2 separate regions of the Homo sapiens genome follow, and region 2 is linked to region 1. Evidence: promoter capture Hi-C in 16 types of primary human blood cells and fetal thymus (Javierre and others, 2016). All regions are on one chromosome and are shown on one strand. The core of a region is centred on a gene start or on the middle of the fragment in contact, and the rest is flanking DNA. Distances in the headings are between cores, read along the strand shown. Region 1 holds the start of CRBN (cereblon). Region 2 overlaps CNTN4 (contactin 4).

Region 1 (7,092 bases), core at 1-2,500:
CGTTAAATCATTACGTAGTATATGTAATTGTTATTAACCTCATCGTAAAAGGTGATGCTATGATTCATGTTGCAGACATTATTAACTGGAACAAATAGGCGACACTATTTGGTTCGTTCTTATTTTGCAAATGGGCGAATTGAGGCCCGCAGCCATAAGTGATTTGACGAAGACCACAGACTGATTCGGAGACAGGAGGCAAAATGACACAGGAATGATTCACAAGCCTCTGTCACAAGGGAGTTTTCTGCTTGTAACTTATCAGGGAGGCAAATTTTCTGAAATCATTTTTTCAAATCTCAGATCCATGACTTTTCTGTTGAGCAATGCTGCTGCTTCCTCTCAGCCTCCGCCCACCACCACCACTACCATGTTTAGATGTTGTATTTCATTTAAGGATTTTTCAGTTTTCCTTCCTCGCTGAAAAAGTGATACTGAAATACACTACGAAAACTTTTGTCCTCCCTCCAAAACAAATATCTTACCAGTCACAACTCCACCATTATAACAGAATTATCTTCATTTTTTACATAGTCTTTCTTTTTTGCCACAGTGACTTGTTTTTACATAGCTGAAGTCATAATGAGTAGGCTAGTTTATATTCAGACAATTTTATTTACCAATTATAAGGCGTTTTCCATTCTGTGCAATCATCATTTCAAGTATGTTTCTGATTAATACTTGTTAATTTTGGAATGTAATGTACATATATGGAAACTACTGAAGTTATTGAAGTTGTATGTACATACATTGAAACTACTGAAGAAAATCAGCAATAATTCAACCACCCTCGGAATAACTGATGGATTTCCCCAGCCTTCACATATATGCTTCTTATTTTAAGAATTGAAACTAATGCTGCATGAACAGGTTTCTATTTGCTCCCTGCCCCCTTCGTTTAAAAACAAGGTGGAGACTAAAGGCTCTCAGCCTCAGTTTCTCCATATGCAAAATATCAGGATTAAATAAGTCATGCTAAGGGCTGGAACAAAGTGAGGGCTCTGCAGCGTGTACGCCGGGCACTCAGCCGTGGATGGCAGGGGACGGCGTTCTGTCCCCGGGACGGAGCGCAGGCCTGTAATTGTCCCTCCCGCCTAGGCCATCACTTTCAGGCTTGGGTACGCGCCGCCGTCTGCTCCCCTGGGGCCGCCAGGGGGCGCTGTGGCCCCGGTGCGCGGCAGCCGCGCGACACGGGCCCTCCCTCGGAGTCTTCGGCACCGCCCTGTCCCAGCCTCCTTTGCGGGTAAACAGACATGGCCGGCGAAGGAGATCAGCAGGACGCTGCGCACAACATGGGCAACCACCTGCCGCTCCTGCCTGGTAACCGCCCGGAGTAGTTCCCTGTAGTCGGGAGTGGGGCGAGGCTCGGAGCCGCTAGCGGTGCAGCTGGGCCTGGGAGGCGGGCGTGGGGGCGCCAAGCCTGGCGAGCCAGCCCAGCAGGGCCGCACCGGAAAGCTGCTTCACGTCGGCCCTCGGCCAGCGATGGAGTCGCGGCGCTTTCTTCGCTGCTCTGTTGCCCCGAGCCGTGAGCCAGGGTGTCGGGGGGAGCATTTGCTATTAAGAACAGGAAACCCATCCTCTCCATCCTCCTTGTGTTCTGAGTTTAGCTCCTAGGAAATGCTCTGAAACTAGAGGACCGGGTCAGATTCACAGCGGTTACTTTTGCTGGTCTCCTTCCTTTTAATAAGAGTGACAGCTAACATGTACTAAGCACTTACCATGTTACGAGCCGTGCAGTTAACGCTTTGCATGCATGTCGCCTTTTAATCCTTCCCACATCAGTTTTCAGTTTCCGATTTGATAAGCGAGTATTGGATTTGCAGATTAGTTCAATGACTTGCCCAAGGTCACACAGCAGAGTCAGGATTCCAACCCGGGTGTGTCTGTCATTATATCTCTAAACCACTTCTCTGTTTTGTTTTTCTTACTATCGGTCTTTCTCAGGCATGTACGATTATGCTTAATCAGAGATACTTAGTTTTTCTTTTTCCTGTATGTTGTGTGAAATGTTTAGACTTTGGCCTTGTGTTGAAATACTGAACAAAAAAAAAAATGCATGGAATATTGCATAAACTTTTCATGGAATGCCTTTCAAGAGATGCTTTCCAAAAGGTGTATCATCCAAACTTGAAAGTATTACTTGAGTCCCTTCGTTATATGACAAGTATGTTAGGTGTTGTGGAGATGAAACGAGAGGTAATACACAATCTGATAATTGAGGTTTACTGTCTAGGCGGGGCTGCTGAGAATATAACTAAACGTAAATCAACTGCAGAGGCGGTTGATTTAGGGCCAGATAAATGAATGCTGTTGTGGCTCTTCAGAGGCAGAGGTTGTTTAAGGGTCAGAGGATTTGGGAAAAAGCCTTTCAGGTAGATCAGGAGACATCTAAAAGCACATATTTAGGATATGGTTGTGGGACATAAGGCCTAGGAGGTATATTGGGTCTAAGTTGCTGGGAAACTGGCATCTCTTGCCAGTGGGTTTGGGTTTTTCCTGTGGATTGCCAAGAAACAGTTTTAGGTTTCAGGTAATTGCCTAAAGAAATCTATGCTTGGAAGATTAATTTGTCCACTGGTAGCAGCATGGATTAAAAGAGGAAGAGACTGAGTGCGTGCCCACCATATAGGAGAGAACTTTTCTGTAAAAATAAACCATAGTCACTGGTTGTTCTCGAAGCCATTCTAGCTGAGTTGACACAAGGGTAAGTGTGCCAGCCTTTGATGGAAAGCTGAGCTATTTTTTCAGAGACATTAGCCCTACTCTCTGTGCCAAATCCGGTGTTTCAGGGAGAATGGTGAATAGAAGAGGGAGGATACTGATCTTCTGTCGACATTCACATCGTGCCTCTGCATGAGATGAGTCATCAGACTTCACTGATAGCTCTGAACAGTCAGCGTGGTTTTTTGTTTGTTTTTTTTTTGTTTGTTTTGTTTTGTTTTTTGTTTTTCAGAAAAGCGTCGGGAGAGGGCCCAGAGATGGTGTAGATATAGCAATAATGCCTCTCCAAATTACGTAAATTTTATTTGTAGGGAAACACTGGGCTTTCCATAATTCCATGTAGTACGAGTTGTTCTGAAGAGTAAATCCTCTAAGTTCCAACAAAAAGCTTTATATTTGAGATGTGAAGAGTTTATCCTAGGCAAATGAAACATTAATAAACATAACTGAGTAGGGGAAAGTGGTTTTTAGCCATATTTATGAAAAAAAGGTTACTAAAGAAATTATTTAGAGACTAGGAGTCAGAACAGTTAAAATGTAAATTTTTAACAATATTAATTCCAGCCTTTGAGCTAATAGTTTATCTTTTAAACTTTCTGTAGTAGAGCAATAAAGTGGGTTGTGCTGCATGCCAAGTGATAGCCATACTGTCAGAGTTGGAAATACAAACAATTTGATGCAGAATATTTTTGTCATCCATTTAGATAGCTCTTTTTTTATCTCAGTGAAACTTACATGTTCCAAGGAAAATTTGTATGAAGTGTTAGACCATTGGCTATTTACATATAAGTTGAAGTAATTCTGTTTTTGACAAAGTTTTATATCTAGGAAGTTGTAATAATAAATAGAAAGTCCAAGGCAGTTACCATATTGAAAATCATTTTTATTTTCTGTCAGGGGCCTGGCTAGAGGTGGTTTGACTTAAATAATGATATGCAAAGGAAAACAAATGATTATTTCGTAATGACATTTTATCGATTTAGAAGTTTATTTGGGGCATTTAAAAATACATGAACTGGGAGGTGAGAAATGAGATTCAGTAATTCTTTATTGTTAGTCTAGGCCAGGGTCTCCCAACCTCAGCACTGGACTTTTGGGCTGGAGAATTCTTTGGGTGGGATTGTCTCGTGCATTGTAGGATATTTAGCTGCATCCCTGGCCTCTACCCACTAGATGCCAGTAGGACTCCCTTAGTTATTGCAACCAATATCCCCTGAGGGGCAAAATCACCTGTGGTTGAGAGTCACTGGTCTAGGATAGGAAATTTACTCATAGTTTGTATGAAAAGGACAGACTCACAGTTAGTACAATAGCATATGTATTGTGTAGCGTTTTCTAATTTTCTTTGCTGTCATTGGTAACATCTGGTTTTCTAAGACATTCTTTTAAAATGTTTTATGCTTCATGCAAACTTTATTTTTAAATTTAAAATTAAGCAAAATAGTATGCAAATGATTGCAAAATTTTCTTTGTTTCTTTCTTTTGAGATGGAGTCTTGCTCTGTCGCCCAGGCTGGAGTGCAATAGCACAATCTCAGCTCACTGCAACCTCCACCTCCTGGGTTCAAGCGATTCTCCTGCCTCAGCCTCCCCAGTAGCTGGGATTACAGGCACCTACAACCACACCCGGCTAACTTTTGTGTTTTTAGTAGAGATGGGGTTGCAACATGTTGGCCAGGCTGGTCTTGAACTCCTGACCTCAAGTGATCTGCCTGCCTCGTCCTCCCAAAGTGCTGGGATTACAGGTGTGAGCCACCACACCTGGCCTTCATTTTAAGATAATGTAGCGACTGCCAGGGAAATGTTGTCACTAGAAAAATGCTGTGAAATTCTTCCTGCTAGGTTATCTTTCTCTCAGTTTTAATTAACAGATCTTGCCTGCTTTGTTTCTTTTCTTACTTATGTAGGAACTGATTGAAGTTGAGAGTTTGAGAGAACGTTAGAGGTTGACTTGTTGAAGCCTATCATTTTGCAGATGAGGAAACTAAAATTTAATTGGGCAGAATGAGTTGTCTAAGGTGTTAAAATTAGTTACTGGTGAGGGAGAAGAGAAAAATCTCCCATATAGAAGAATTTTAAATAACTTACATTTCCTCTTCAAGGGAGTGGAGCATAACTCATCACCCCTGAAGTGGAGGCTACACCTAGTGATTTGCTTCCGAAGGGTACAATGTGAAAAGGAGGGGGGAAAGGAACTTTACAGCGGAAAAACCTGACACACACTGCTGTAGCCAGGTGATCAAGGTTAACAGCAGGAATAGTTCATAATATATAGGCTGGATATGTAATAAAAACAGCACATTGGCAACAGACCCCATTTCTAAAAAGGAAAAGAATAACAACACTTCACTTCTGTGGTCTTCCTCCCTAAAACACGTATCCTCAGTCTAATCATGGGAATTACATCAAACAAAACCCAGTTGAGGGATACTCTACAAAAGGCCTGACCAGTACTCCTCAAAACTCAGAAACAAGCAAAGTCTGAAAACCCCCCTAGCCCAGAGGAGGGTAGGGGGACCTGATAACTAAATGTAAAGTGGGATCCTGGAACGCAAAAAGACTAGATAAAAACTAAGGGAATCCATTTAAAATATGAAGCTTAGTTAGAGTAATGTACCAAGACTGATTCCTTCGTTGTGGCAAATGTACCATACTAATATAAATTAACTATAGGGGAAAAGGATGTGTGACACACGGGAGCATTCTGTACTATCTTTACACTTCTCTGTAAATGTTAAACTATTCTAAAATTCACAGTTGACTTAAAAAAAAAAAATAGCTACTGACAGAGCCCAGCACGGACCCCAGTCCTCTGGCTCCCTCTTCACGGTGCTGTAGAGTTTACCAAATGCATGTGGTTTTAGAAGTACCCCTCTTTTGAAGAAGGAATTACATGTTTGAAAGGTTTTCATTCATCTTTTTTTTTTTCTTACAATATTCTACTTTTATAGCAGAGAGTGAGGAAGAAGATGAAATGGAAGTTGAAGACCAGGATAGTAAAGAAGCCAAAAAACCAAACATCATAAATTTTGACACCAGTCTGCCGACATCACATACAGTATGTAATTTAGTGACAGATCTAATATAATAGATATACATTTAAATGTAGATAAAAGTTCATAAAAACAAGTGACTGATATTTGTATTACTAGATATCAGAAATTGTGGATGAGGACATGGGCTATTTGCCAGTAGATAAACATTTAACTGTAATTTTTAAGAAGCTTAATACTATGTTGTGGTAGAATTGTTTGAGGAATTGTTGCTCTTTATACTCTTTCTGGTAATTGAGCTATTAAATACTTCTCTGTACTTCTAGGTACTAGAGTGTTATTGAACATACTAACATTTTATACTTACTGTTTGTGATATGTGGGCATAGAGATATTTCTTGGTAAAAATAATACTTTGTACTAAAAAAATTCTTGAATTTCTGTGTTTGTGATATATTCATAAAAGATTAGAAATTCTTCTAAGAGTTAAAGTTAGATTAAAAATTATATTTTAACATGGGATGCTTATATACCACGTTTATTAAGTGTTTGTAACCCCATTTGTATTTTTTTCTTTTTTTTTGAGACAGAGTGTTGCTCTGTCGCCCAAGCTCGAGTGAGTGCAGTGGCACAATCTCAGCTCACTGCAGCCTCCACCTTCCAGGTTCAAGTGATTCCCCTGCCTCAGCCTCCCGATTAGCTGGGATTACAGGTGTCCACCACCACACCTGGCTAATTTTTGTATTTTTAGTAGCAACAGGGTTCCACCATGTTGGCCAGGTTGGTCTTGAACTCCTGACCTCAGGTGATCCGCCTACCTCGGCCTCCCAAAGTGCTGGAATTACAGGTGTGAGCCACTGTGCCCGGCCTGTATTTCTTTTAATGTGATTTGCTCTTTAGTCTGTTGAGCTTACATTTTTATTACATATCGATCATGACACTATACCTATATATGTTTTTATATAGTACCTAGGTGCTGATATGGAAGAATTTCATGGCAGGACTTTGCACGATGACGACAGCTGTCAGGTGATTCCAGTTCTTCCACAAGTGATGATGATCCTGATTCCCGGACAGACATTACCTCTTCAGCTTTTTCACCCTCAAGAAGTCAGTATGGTGCGGAATTTAATTCAGAAAGATAGAACCTTTGCTGTTCTTGCATACAGGTAAAATATTAGAGTCCATTTGCTTAATACATTCCCTCTCATGGGTAATTGCAGTGGTCAGTGTTGAAGCCAAAGCAGGCTGTTATTTCGCATGTACAGGAGAGGTTGGGTAAGAATGTGAGGTTAGGAATTTGGTTAAGTAGAAGTTTGATAGTGCAAGTTGGAGTATTTTTGTTCATTTCATTACCATCTAACTCAGCTCTTCACCTT
Region 2 (7,130 bases), core at 2,196-4,695, 410 kb after region 1:
AGAGAGGTAGAATGATTTGCCAGAGGTCACATATTGGAGTGATATGTGTGAGAGAGAAGAGGTAGCCATGTAAATAGTGTGGGTAATTCTGCCCACCATGTGGCTTGCTTGATCAGTTTCCAACACTGCATTAGAGATGAGGGACCCAAATCTCTTTTATTTTTCAGTTTCAATTTTCACTGGCTTCACATAGAGAGAGTACCTTCCCATGTTGTAGAGTATTTAAAGATACCCACTTCTCATGCAATGTGGCTCTAAACTTAAGTTAATTCTTCACCTGCTTTTCAACCAAAGAAACAATTACTTGTCTGTTCCATCCTCGGGGGAGAGGTGGCATGCCTATCTCCCATGGGTATGTATACTTCCAACTTAAGAGAATTCTGAGGGTAACTTTAATGACAGTCATTTTGCTTTAAGTGCTGACTTTGGAAACAAATCTCTGTGAAGATGCATGAGGCTCCATGTTGCTCTTTCCATTTCAGACCACTCAGGGATGCTAGACACTACCAGTGAAGGGGAAACAGTATTTTTCAAGCACATATGCACCCCTCTCTGAATTTTTAATAGAAAAGCAAACCAAAAAATGAGGAAAACACAGTAAAACACATTGTTACTATCACCTGGATATGCATTGTGTGTGTTTCTGGGAGTTATCTGCCATGCTTGGTAGCAGAGCCCCTGAGCTATGCCTCAAATGGTAACTGGTCTCACACTGAGCATCTCACCATACACTAAGCATTGCCTGTCAACTCTTGCTATTCCCACTGCGTCAGCTTTTCAAACAGCAGTTCTTAGCCACATGACACTTAGATTTACATTCCTTTGCTCAGCCTGGTCCACTGATTATCTCTAGCCCTGGATAGTTTCTGTTTGTTTACTTTCCTTAATCCTTACGGGTCAGTGCAGTGATGCATGTGTAGAAGCCAGGCAAGAAAGATCTGTAGAAAAAGAGACACTATTTTGCAGAGATCTGAAGCTTTTATGATACCTTTTCTTTGGTAGAGCCAGACTGATGAGGGATTTTATAACAATGCACTTCCTCTCTTGGGATGAAGGAAGCTGAGGGCCCTTGGCCCTCCCCCACCAGGGAAGGTTTGTGTGTGCAAAAGGCAATACTGCCTTATAGCAAATGGTTTTAAATCTCTAACATTTTCCTCCAAAGCTAAATAGAAAGAGATGGAAGAGGGCCGGAAACGGTGGCTCACGCCTGTAATCCCAGCACTTTGGGAGGCTGAGGCAGGCGGATCACGAGGTCAGGAGTTCAAGACCAGCTTGGCCAACATAGTGAAACCCCGTCTCTACTAAAAATACAAACGTTAGCCGGGCATGATGACGCGTGCCTGTAGTCCCAGCTACTCGGGAGGCTGAGGCAGTAGAATTGCTTGAACCAGGGAGTTGGAGGTTGCAGTGAGCTGAGATCACGCCATTGCACTCCAGCTTGGGCAAGAGAGTGACACTTCGTCTCAAAAAAAAAAAACAAACAAACAAACAAACAAAAAGAGACAGAGAGAGATGGAAGAGAAGTCACTCCTTGTTCTTCAGCAACAGGACATAACTAATCTAACCATGAAACTAGCACAGGTGCCAAGGCCCAAGAGATGGCCTCTAGGGAATGCCATAAGAGGCTGGCATTGATTCCTGAAGATAGTTAGCCTGTCTTGCTGCTATTTTTGATCTGCTTGTTGTAGACCCTTGGCTCCGCTGATGATTTCTAAGGGCCTGTGCTGCAGGCAAGAAGCATTTTTACTTGCCACCCATTCTATCATCTGTATGTTGTTTTTTAAAATCCTGGTTTACAGAGTGTTGGATTTAATGGAGCAATAGAATTTTAAGGGGAAATATGAGATGTGTGTGAAACCAACATAGGTGTTTCTAACTATGGATACTAAAAGTTACCACCAGTACCACCACAATTTTCTACCATCATCAATACATAAAAGACAGAACTTTTCAACGTGAAAAATTACAGAAAGATAGTATCAACAGAAAAACTGTCCTTTAATTGACTAAACACTGCCTTTTGTTTTGTTTCTGTTTTTTTTTTTTTTGAGACAGAGTCTCACTCTGTTGCCCAGGCTGGAGTGCAGTGGCACAATCTCGGCTCATGGCAACCTCTGCCTCCCGGGTTCAAGTGATTCTTCTGCCTCAGCCACCAGGATAGCTAGGACTACAGGTGTGCGCCACCACGCCCGACTAATTGTTTTTGTATTTTTAGTAGAGATGGGGTTTCACCATATTGGCCAGGCTGGTCTTGAACTCCTGACCTCATGATCTGCCCGCCTCGGCCTCCCAAAGTGCTGGGATTACACGTGTGAGCCACCGTGCCTGGCCACCTTATTTTAATAATGTAGTGCATATTTGCGTAGACTGGTGGAAATTTCAGTATAGGTAAGTTTTGGGAACCAGCATTTGAAGGTGTGCTCCCAAAATATCTTTTTCACAAAATAAGACAAATGTCAGATACCTACTAGTAAGGATGTGTTTCTTTGGCTTCAGGGTGGACCCCATTTTAAATGAAGATATGGTACAATGAAAAGACTTCAAGACTTGAAGTCAAAAGTCTGGGTTTTGATCCTCGGATCTGTCCCTTAATGGGATCACGAACTTGAGGAAGTCACTTCCTATTTCTGAGCTTCACATTCTACATGTGTAAGATGGGGATGGTGATGATGATAAATCATACCTCACAGGCCTTTGTAAAGACTAAAAGATAAAACAGATTTGAAAGTACTTTCTAAAAAGGAAAACGATATAGACAACTTAACTATTAGTTATTTTTTTCAAGGCATAAAGTGCTGGCTTGGATTATTAAGGAGAAAGTGAAGCAGTAGACACAGAGGACCAACCCACTTTCTGTGGACACGGTGACAATTTCCTGAGGAAATGTTCCTGCCTCAGCCTAAGTGCCATTATAAAGTAGATAGGGGAAGTCATCAGGACTGCTGTGGAGGTGGCTGGAGAATGAGCTCCCATTGGTCCACCATGTTTAAATCACAAGCTCTCTACAGCAAGCTGAACAAGACTGTGCTACAAATCTAGTAAATACTTCACCAATTTCCTTGTTTCTACCAATACAATTTCAGCTGAAAGACAATTTGTAGTTAACAAATTTAATATTGAGCCAATTAGTCAGATTACCTACCTGCTAACTGTAGCCACATTGATTTTTGTTGAAATATTAATTATCCAAGATAAGATTTCCTGCTTAACCTTCAAAACAAGCTTAAAATGCACTATTTCACATCATTACCAAGGTTAAGAGGAAGATGCTTGTGATGTGATTACAATTTATATTACCGGATTCGCCATTCATTTCAGAAGCATCGAGGCCACCTGGTCAAATGAAGGATACATTTGTGATGTTTAATTTCCAGCAGGAAATGGCAATGACACTCAAAGCAATAAATATGAAGGCTCCACAGATGTAAAACATTTGTTCATCTCTAACTGCCACTCTGACCATTTTACCTACATTTCTGTAATTTAAAAGCCTCAACCAAATGTAACATTTATATGCAAATGTTTTCTAGCCTCACCATTTGGTTGGCAAACAGCAGATGACCTTACACGCCCACTGCTATGTGACAATATTTTAAATTCTGCCTTCTAACCACTTAAAGGAAAAAAACACAAAAATACTGAGAAGGTGAGCTATGTAAGAAGCTTTTATTGAACACCAGCTGCCTGTGAGCACTGTACTAGGTGCTGGGTTGTCAGGTTAGCCACAGTTGTTGCCACTGATGAACTTCCATTAGAGACTTTGCTTCTTATTATCGTAAGACGTGATCATAGAGAAAATCTGAGACAGAAAGGGGATCAGAATTCACTGTTTGGGATTAGTTTGGTACGCTCAAGTAGAACATTTTTCTAATCGGCTGTGCATTTTCCACCATGAGGTATTCCATGGACTCACTGTTATCTCTATTGTCTGTCAATGGGGCAACTAACTGAAAATTTAAAAAACAAAAACAAAAACAAAAACAAAAAAGCCCACTCACTCAGTAAAGGTAATAAAGAGCACTTATATAAACTTCCTTTTTCAGGATACACTAACTAGTCCCTGATTAGCTGAAGCAAACAATTCGTTTATTTTAAAAATCAATCACAAAAAGCAGTTCAATAAGAGGAGAGAGAGAGCTGTTACTCAAGCATGTCTACATACCTCTGATCAAAAGGGTGCACTCACACCAATCACTTGATAACAAAAGAAATAAAGTCTTTGGAAGATCACCCTCCCCCTCTCCCCAGATCAATATCACTTCCAAAAGGAAAGCACATTCATCTTGTCTCTGAATATATTTTGCATGTTTAGCTCTAAAGTGTGAAGACTTTCAAGGTTGCCTTTCTTACCAGCTTCTCTTTGTCACCCTCGCTTTTACATGGAATGACTTATTAGCCTGGTATATTTTTTTTGAGATCTAATAAAAAAACTACTTTTAATCTCACTTAATCCATGTGATACACCAAGACCATTTTTTCTAGTATTGCATCCTAGTGAGCTTTGACTTATCAAGTCCTTACATCAGCTCCAAGTTGCAGGTCACTACCATTCCATGCCCTATAGTATTTAATCTCACTTTCCACCTTTAGCTTCCAAACCAACATGGACTTTGTCACACAACTTCCAGTTTAGGTTGAAGGTCATCATCTGGTCATTAATATTGCTGTGTTCTCAATATAAAAGAGACATATGGCGAATGTGTCCTTAATTCTGTTATTTCGTTGTGCTCTGCTACTATTGCATCTCCTGAATTTTTAATTTTTTATTTCCATAGGATTTGGGGGAACAGGGGGTATTTGGTTACATGAGTAAGTTCTTTACTGGTGATCTGTCAGATTTTGGTGCACCCATGACCCAAGCAGTATACGCTGAACCCAATTTGTAGCCTTTTATCCCTCATCCTCTTCCCACCTTTCCCCGCCGCGTCCCAAAATTCCATTGTATCATTCTTATGCCTTTGCGTCCTCATAGCTTAGCTCCCACTTATGAGTGAAAATATACGATGTTTGGTTTTCCATTCCTGAGTGACTTCACTTAGAATAATCGTCTCCAATCTCATCCAGGTTGCTGCGAATGCCACTAACTCATTCTCTTTTTATGGTTGAGTGGTATTCCATCATATATATGTATACCACAGTTCTTTATCCACTCACTAACTGATGGTCATTTGGACTAGCCTGATTATCTAAAAAATGTATCTAACACTGTGTGTGAAGCACTGGTGGAGTTTCTAGTGGGACTGACAAAGCAAAAGGTAGACTTATAGATAAAATTATAGATGCGATCAGGAGAAAGGTGAAGGAAATCCACAGGGCATTGAGAGAGGCAGTCACTGAAGAAGGCCACATTAACCAGAGTGGCAGAGACAGGTGATATTTAAATTTTGAACCAAACCCCCAAAGGAAGCCCTATTGTGACTCTGGGCTTTAACTCTGATTTGGAAAGAGTGGTGATGAGGGATGCCTTCTCAAGGGCCATCATAAAGTAGGATTCATTTGGAAATGCTATAGACAGCTGATCAAATTCTGGAAGGCTGTTCCTCTCCCACTGCCCAAATCCCTAAGTTCATGATACATTTTCAAAGCTGGTGATTTGTCCTTTCCAGCACCAACAATGTTAGTTTCTGTGTGTGTGGGTACAGTGTCATCATTGAAGAAACAGTCACTAAATATTTATTTTGATCAGTTTTAGGTTATTACTTGCTATGTATTTCTTGGCATATGAAGATTTCTTGAATAAGGAATTAGGTTTCTCCAGGTGGCACTTGCTTTATCAATCTGTAGGATGCTCTCTGAGGGCACCTGTTTTATAACTAGAAACAAAGACGACAGAGGAACTTATATGTGCAGCTATTCACAGGTATTAAAAACTCTAAGGCATATAAAATATCTAATTATAGCTATCCCATATTTAATTGATGATTAATAATTTAAAATTATTAAGCAAAATTAAAAATACACAGCAGGCTAGTAGAGCAGTATTTGATTAGCTGTCTAATCCCAGGAAAACAAATAGTTTCCCTTTTTACTACAGACCAGGTACTTCACATATGTTTTCTAATTCTTAAAATAACTATGTGAGACATACTCTAGGAAGGGGAGCCAGGAGAAATGTCTTCTTAACCCGGAAAAAAAGCACTATCAGCATTACTTGAGCTCCATTCTCTAGCACTGTCGGTTAAGTGGGCTTTTCCTGACTTCGTTAGCATCTTCAATCTCATCCTTTCATCTCCGTGCAGAAACTCAGTGACGACAAGTACGAGTGGTGATATTGAAACCCTATCCTCTATCTCTTTGTACTACACTCAGCACTGCCACTTACTGGCAAAAGAACAAAACACGGCTTCACCTTTTCACCTATGGATGCAAGTGGAGTTTAGTTGACAGTACGGCATTTAGAAATTGAGTCTGGGTATTTTATTACCATCAAATTCTAAACTCAGTTTTGAGTTTCTCAAACAAATTATTCCCTCTGACGGAAATGCATTTTCACCATAGTAAAAATATCAGAAAGCCAGTATAGTGTGGTGATTAATAATTCAAGTACTGAAGTCAAATTACCTGGAATCATACCCTAGCCCTTCAACTTCCCAGCTGTGTGAAGTTTGGCAAGTTATTTAATTTTTTTATGTCTGAGTTCTCTCCTTCGTAAAATGGGAACATCAAGAGTACAGGTGTCTAGTGTTGAGGTAAGTATTAAAAAAGAGAATTCCTAATTTAATGGCTGGTACATGCAAAGCAAGTGAGAAGTGTTAGCTCCTGTTATTGTTACAGGTGGATGGTTGACGATGTGTGAACTGATGATTAGACTTACAGAAAGCTACTGTCTTGCATACCATGTAGACTTCAAGACACTGAGCATGCTTAATGGGACCATATGAGAATTTTCCTAATCTTAAGTCAGTAAAGTGACACGCTTAAGCATAGTGGCCTCAGTAAATCTTGAGCTAAAATGCAGGACAAACTCTCTTCCCTTTTCTTCCTCCCTCCCACCACTTTCTGCTCTGCTGCATTCAGCCTTGCTCTGTGCCCTCCAGCCACACAGGCAGGTCTTCTTCGAATCCCTTGAAAATACCATGCTCTATGCCACCACAGCACCTTTGTACATTCTGTATTTTCTGTCTAGAAAA

The links. The method cuts DNA at HindIII sites, captures the fragments that hold promoters and counts their contacts. A CHiCAGO score of 5 or more calls a contact.
Region 2: a contact is called between a fragment that was not itself captured here and the fragment with the promoter of CRBN in region 1, in 1 of 17 cell types (activated CD4 T cells). The highest score is 5.2, in activated CD4 T cells.

What each region holds. Positions count from the first base shown.
Region 1 is chr3:3,173,849-3,180,940 of GRCh38, reverse strand. CRBN (cereblon) reads left to right here and starts at 1,250. Exons shown (of 11, transcript NM_016302.4): 1 at 1,250-1,320; 2 at 5,672-5,778; 3 at 6,680-6,882. The coding sequence starts at 1,254. RefSeq lists a silencer at 1,017-1,186. The HindIII fragment of the contact is 7,719 bases long and covers 1-3,111 here.
Region 2 is chr3:2,764,383-2,771,512 of GRCh38, reverse strand. All of the region lies in intron 6 of CNTN4 (contactin 4), which reads right to left. Among named protein-coding and RNA genes, the nearest start is that of CNTN4-AS1, 290 kb to the left of the region's middle. RefSeq lists enhancers at 512-1,035, 5,948-6,500. The HindIII fragment of the contact is 441 bases long and covers 3,225-3,665 here.